Linked DNA regions of Homo sapiens: region 2 is linked to region 1. The links are contacts of gene promoters, found by promoter capture Hi-C in blood cells and fetal thymus (Javierre and others, 2016). All regions are on one chromosome and are shown on one strand. The core of a region is centred on a gene start or on the middle of the fragment in contact, and the rest is flanking DNA. Distances in the headings are between cores, read along the strand shown. Region 1 holds the start of REV3L (REV3 like, DNA directed polymerase zeta catalytic subunit). Region 2 holds the start of HDAC2 (histone deacetylase 2).

Region 1 (3,204 bases), core at 675-3,174:
AAACAAAGACAGCACCACTATATTTAAAAGGGCAGAAAACCTATCTTATAGAACACTTCATCGCCTCGATTTCCCAGCCTCCAAAGTTTCAAGTGTTACACTTTCAACACGTTAAAAGCACTCAAATTCCCCATCTTTCAAGGTTCATATCAAAATCATATTCACTAGTTTAAATAGGAATATGCTACCAAATCTCACAACATTGACATTTTAACAAAGAGAATTCACATTAAAAGATAACTGCTTTAAAATGAGTGCTTGTGTTTGGGAAAGCGCTATTATCTTGGTAGTCCACAGAAACTGACTGTAGTAATAAGATGAATGGTGATGAGGGCAAGGAGCATCAAGTGGGAAATGCTATCTAAAATCCCATAGGGCAATTCATAGCTAGAGGGAAGAACAACCTTTCCTAAGATGCATTATTTCCTAGAACTCCATTATTTCATGGAAGCAGTTCAAAGCATGCAAAAAAGCAAAACCATTTTAAAACACCTAGTAAACTGGGCCTCTATCTTTTTTATATTATCATAAGCCCCAGGAGTTTTTGAGAACGTACCTTCTGTCACGGCTGTCTCCCCTTCCCATCCCTTCTTCAACATAGTTGTGTTTAAAAAATATATACCTGTACTTAAAACGCAATCCTACAGCCCAGCCTAGGAGCATTTCAAAATGTCTGTGCTGCTGAGTCTGGCTGTGGTTCCTAATAAATTCACCCCATTAAGTGTGATGTTTTAGGTTGGGCAACATAAACACGCATTTCCTACTTCCATGGATGCACATTTCCTGAAAGCACTGCACCTAAGGATGCTGCCCTGTCCCCCGACGCTCAGGCACTAAACTCTAAGGAGTCACGACCTGCACTCACAGCAGAGCCACACGGTCACCCCAGTGAGAAAGATTATCTGGCCCCAAGCGCCACTCTCTCCGGCCCACTGCATCTCCGGAACTGGCAGAGGAGAGCGAGGGTGAGAAGAGACCATGGGGAGCGACTGACAACAAGGCTGACACTTCCCCGTTTCCAGAAAGCGGCACTTGGGGGACACAAGGGATGTCCCACTAGCGACCGACCTCAGAGCAGGCCCTACGAACCCGTCCACCGATGGACATGGCGCGGCCACCTGGCCCGCCGTCCGGGGCGCCCGCGGCTTTCGCTCTCCCGGCCCGCGCCCTGGAGTGCGGCTCCCGCTCCCGGCCGCCACACGCAGTCTAAACACGCGGCGCTCGCCACCTCCCTGCCCGGGGGTGGGGGCGCCGCGCAGCGCTCGCGCGGACCCACATTTTTGCGGCTCTTGTCACGCACGAGAGAAAAGGCGAGGAGGGCGGAGGGGAGGGAAGACGCGGCAGCGATCCACGGAGACGGCCGGCGCCGGTGGCGTGTGCGCGTGTGCGCGGCGGGGAGGGCGGCCCCGGCGCCCCGCCGACTCCCGCTCCCGCCCCGCGCCCGGCGCCCGCTTACCTGCCGGGGTCGCTCCGAAGACTCGCACCACCGGCACCTTCTTGACAGGGGCCTGGGTGAGGGGGGATTGGCAGGTATCCAGCCCCTGCAGCGGGCTGGCCATGTAGTAGTCTGCAGTCACTATCCTTACTGAAAACATGTTCGCCGCCGCCGCCACTGCCTCCCTTCACTGGCGACCCGGCAGCGGCAGCAGCAGCGGCGGCGGCTCCCTCCGCAGCGGCGGCGGCGCCCCCTCCCCTTCTCGGCACGGCCCCCTCCCCTCACACAGAGGCACCTCGAGGAGCGGCGGGCGGGGCGGTGTAGGCGCTGCTGCCGCCGCCTCCTCAGGAGCACCCGGCAAGGGGCCGCAGGAGAGAAGCCCTCGAGCTTTCGTCGGTGCTGGTGCTGCCGCCACTGCCGCCACCGCCGGGAATCACACGGGCTCCTCGGTCCCAGGCTGCAGCTCTTGTTGCCATGATGATGATGTCACGGACGCAACCACTGGGGGGAGGGGAGAGGGGGGTGTGTGTGGCGAAGGGAGGCTGCGAGTAGTGCGGGGGAGGGGGCTCGGCGGGAAAAGGAGCGAGAGGGCGGGCGCCCGGGCGGGACACGGAGGGCGGGGGCCGAGAAGGGGCTTTCTCCCCCTCCCCGGGCACGCGGCGAGGGAGGCGGCCGGCGGCCGGCAGCGCCCGCGCGGGATCGATGACTCGGCTGGCGGGCACGGTCACCTGGGTGAGGGGCAGCGGAAGGGGCGGCGGAGCACCGATCTCATGGATGGGCTCCGAGGGGCTTGCGGGAGGGGGGCGCCAGTGTTCGGGGCCGTTTTGGCGGCTATGCAGGATTGGCAGGAGCTGCGATGCTCACACTTGCCTCGCCGACCGCCATTTCACATCCAGCAGAGGAGGCGGGGGCAGCCGCTGAGACGGTTTTTCACAAGGTAAGAAAATCCGCCCGCGTGAGGAGGGAGGCGAGGCGCAGATCTCGTGCCGCTGCGGCCTCGCGGGAGGGAAGGGCGGGCGGGCGGCGGAACGGGCGGGGCCGGGTGCGGACGCAGCCGGCCCTTCTCAGGTAACGCCGCGGCTCCGCGCGTGGCCCGGGGGCGGTGCGAAGGGTGGGGGCGCGCGGGCGCGGGCTTCGGCCTATAAAAGGGCCGCCCTGGCGTTCCCCCTTCCCGAACGTGCCGCGCGAGCCGCGGTGCCCCCTCCTCTTTGCTGCTGCAGTGTCTGCGCCGGGCCATTTAATGAGATTTATTCACGCACGGCTCTTCTCAGCTTTGCGAGGGGTTGGCAGATCCAGTGCACAGGGATTTCCCACTACCGTGTTTTTCTCCCGCCCCCTTCCTTCCCTCTCGTCCTAATACATCCTTCGTTGGTTTCCTCGGCCCCGCAGGCTGCGTCCCGGGCACGCGCAAGTACATGTAAGGACTTGTCAGCTGCCGGTGACCTCCCTCCTCCCTCGTCGCTCCTCCCCCAGCGGAATGTAGGATTAACAGTCTTTCCGAGAAAATTTTGGCCAAAGAAAAAGGCCTGTGAAAGTCACCGCGTTAGACGTGGCCTCCTCGTGTTTTTCACTAACACGTTATGGAAGGTTTTACTACCCGAAGGCATAAAAGCACCACCGTGGGGAAGGGCCGTTTTGAATAAACAACTTTATTCAAAAATCGAGAGGGGGTGAAGCGATGCAGTTAGGGAATTTTTGTTTTAAAGAGTAGTAACATGCAGCTGGCTTGGCTATTAAATTGGAAACAAGGGGTTCCTCTCTGACTTGGC
Region 2 (3,327 bases), core at 422-2,921, 2.5 Mb after region 1:
ATTCTCTTCTCACAATAAAAAAAGAATTAGTATTGCTACTTTTGTAAGCTGACAAAACAATGTTCTCTGGTAATAAAAATATAAGTTTTTGGATGAGGTCAGCACACTATCACATATTAATAATTAGCATAATATAAACATTAATAATCTCTGCAAAATATTTTAATTCCCTCCCACAAAAATTAAAAGAGTATGTGAAACATAAGCAACTAGGAACTCCACTTTAACAAACGAGTCACAGACAAAAGACAAAATAACCCACCAGAGATTTCCAAACTATCAGCTATTCACTTGTTGCTGGCCATCACGTAAGCAGGTGAATGGGCTACAATAAAGTATCATATTAAGTCACAATCACAAGACAAATATTTCCACCCTACTTATCAAGCTTGCATCCTTTCCCGGGTACCCGTGCCTGCTCCCATTCCCACAACGAAGGTTATCATAAATGGGCCCAGGACAAGAGCGCTGTTCAGAAACTGCTACTCAAGTGTACCCTCCTGGTTCTAGGGTTCCATTGTGGTGACAACAAATTACAAGCAGCTTACTTCCTCAGAGCCCATCACTACCAACACCAACTGACAGCTTCGAGAAGGACCTCAGTACCACTTTCCCTAACCAAAATTTTCCTCTTTACTCCAAGCCCTGACAAGGATAAATCTCTAAACTTTAGAAACAATGTAATTTTACAAATTAACTTATACGCAGGGTTACTTCCTTTCCAATTTGATCAGGGAATGCAGGGCAAGAATAACCCAAAATATGCAATGTAAATCATGTTGAAATTAAAATGTATTTCCATCTCCACCCCTCCACGATGGCATAATTTCAAATCAACTTATATAATGCATATCTAGTCCTCTGAAAAATCATTTTTAAAAGTAGGGCTGTTATTATTCTGTCCTAGCTATCGCAGATCAATTTAGATTTGTTCTGTAAGATTTCAGATTTTCCCCAAATGACACAGGTGGTTATTTTATATGTATCAGTCATTAAAAGATTAATCCTTTTTAACTAAAAAGAGACAGTACGGTCATTTACAAGTTAAAGTAGATTTATTCTGAGCTGGTGCTCTGGGGTCTTACTTCTCTAAAATTTTGTGATTTACAATACACCACATGTAGGAAACAGCTTCCAAAATTTGTATTGCTTCCTACAAATCAGACAGGACTTTCAGGAGAAGGAGCCTAGGATAGATTCTCTGTTAAATTTTGGAATCCCTTCTCTCAAGAGTAACCTACTATAAACTATTTACCAAGCCTTTGTGAAATCTGTATAACAGGTTACTACTCCATTGAGCAAGAAAACACAGGAAACAGGATTCGAAGATTTAATGTTACTGCTCATACTCCAAATTATAGAATGCTTAAGATAATTAAATTATCTGACTTTTATAATTCACTACACGGTGACCTCAAATTTACCTCATTAGAATATTTAGTACTTCTGCACTTCTCCCACTTCTCAAAGTTTTCCCATACCAGGATTCCCCACCACCTAGGAACAGCCTTTGCAAGATACCAATGCTCTCTAAATCCCCAAAGCAGGGTCTATTTCCTGATCGAACAAAGAGCAACAAAGAAGTGGGTGGTAACCACCTCTCTGAGGCAAGCCAGGACCCATGGAGTCTGATCTACAACACAAGCAGTAGCAGTTCCACATCTCCCTACCACCTCTTATTTCCTACGAAGTCTTTCTGCCTGAAACTGGAAAACCCGAACTATTATTGAGGAAGTGAAGCCCTTCCATTTGAATCCTGAGAAAGACGCGCTCAAAGAACCCAGCGAACAAAGGAGAGGGTTGGAGCCCACGCAAAACATGGGTGTGATAAAGCCACACGCGACCTGAGCCCCCACCCTCAGTAACTACTCTCCAGCGCCCACCGGGAGGAGGGGTCCGGGGAAAGGGTAAGCCGAGGAAGGAGAAGACGCTCCGGCCAGACCGAACGCAGGGTAGGGGAGGCGAGCAGGCGAGGAGGAGGGAAGGGGACGGGAGGGGCGGAGCTCTCGCGGCCGCGGGGCTTTGTGTAGAGTCAAGGCCGGGATAGAAATTTTGCCTCGCGGGGGACGGGTCGAGGGGGTAGGAGGCCGACGCGGGGCACCCCAAACCTGCGTTGCCACGAATGGTGGGCGGGAGAAGGGAGAGAATGGGCCGCCCCCTTCGCCGCCGCCACCACCAAGGCGGGGTAGGCCGGCGCCGTCCCCAGCGGCGGCCACCTTCGAGGCTGCGGACTGCACGGCCGAAGGGGGAGAGGCAGGAGACAAGACGGGCGGGCCCCCTGATTCCCGCCCGCAGGAACCGCGGGGGCTGCGCCAGGAAGAGGGTCTCGTTCTAACTGTGCCGGGCCGGGAACGGGTTAAGATGCGGCCAAATGTCGGTCCCTCCTCCTTCCCACCCCTCAGCCCCGGCGCCCACTCGCGACGGCAGCCGCGGAACCCAGCGCCCGGCCCCGCGCGCCCACCCCGACACCGGCCCGGCCGCTCACCGTCGTAGTAGTAGCAGACTTTTTTTTTGCCGCCTCCTTGACTGTACGCCATGGGCTCCCCGGCCACCGCCGCCACCGGGCTCCTCCTCCTGCTGCTGCTGCTGCTGCTGCTGCCGCCGCGGCTCGGCCGGGAGAGAAAAGGGCTGAGGGAAACGTGGGGGCGATAGTCCCGCGGGGAAGGGCAGGCCGGTGGGAGGAGAGGAGGGGGCGCCGGGAAGGCTCGGTACCACCCGGCAGAGGTGCCGAAAGCTCGGAATCGGAGGTGGCAGCGGCACCAACTCGCGAGGAGGGGGCCACCAAACCACCTCAGGAGGCCGCAGGGAGGTGAGCGCATCCACTGCGGCCTCCACGGGGGAGGAAGGGGCACGGCTGGAGAAGGAGGCCGTTTCGGGCTCGAGGTTAGAGGCCCTGTTAGGGTGAACAACCTGCGCAAGGCGGCGCCATACACAGTGTTAAAATGAGGAAGAAGACAAGCTTTCGCTGCGCAAGTAGATCCAGGGAGCGTGCAGCCGGGTGGACGTTCTCCCCCTCAGGTCTGCGCGCAGTGGTTGCGCCTGTCCCCGAGCCTGCGCAGTCGGCGCCTCGTAGCCTTGGCGGTCTGGACCCCTCCTCGGCGTCCCACGCTGCTCCCCTCCCCCACTGTCGCGAAGCTCCCGCCCAAGCCGACCACGTGCCGCGAGCCCGGCGGGGAGAGCCCACTCCCGCGCCCCTTCCGGGCCCACTACCCCGCCGGGCTGTGGCCCATCGCCCCAGTGCCTGGTAGCCTAGTTTTCTCGTTTGTCGTTTGTTCACTTATTTATTATTATTATTATTATTTTGACTCGTAATGGGTATGAGGTGTA

What was found. Contacts are between HindIII fragments. The CHiCAGO score rates a contact against its expected background, and 5 or more counts as called.
Region 2: a fragment that was not itself captured here is called in contact with the fragment with the promoter of REV3L in region 1 in 1 of 17 cell types (fetal thymus); the score reaches 7.4 in fetal thymus.

What each region holds. Positions count from the first base shown.
Region 1 is chr6:111,481,294-111,484,497 of GRCh38, forward strand. REV3L (REV3 like, DNA directed polymerase zeta catalytic subunit) reads right to left here and starts at 1,925. Exons shown (of 32, transcript NM_001372078.1): 1 at 1,457-1,925. The coding sequence starts at 1,595. It also overlaps TRAF3IP2-AS1. RefSeq lists enhancers at 812-871, 2,712-3,071 and silencers at 1,242-1,321, 1,382-1,451, 1,512-1,811, 1,982-2,211, 2,252-2,641. The HindIII fragment of the contact is 6,397 bases long and covers 1-3,204 here.
Region 2 is chr6:113,968,372-113,971,698 of GRCh38, forward strand. It overlaps HDAC2 (histone deacetylase 2), which reads right to left and starts at 2,777. Exons shown (of 14, transcript NM_001527.4): 1 at 2,486-2,777. The coding sequence starts at 2,537. It overlaps HDAC2-AS2 (HDAC2 and HS3ST5 antisense RNA 2), which reads left to right and starts at 1,330. Exons shown (of 10, transcript NR_125845.1): 1 at 1,330-1,907. RefSeq lists silencers at 1,918-2,237, 2,448-2,747, 2,689-3,132, 3,108-3,287 and an enhancer at 2,294-3,272. The HindIII fragment of the contact is 2,571 bases long and covers 387-2,957 here.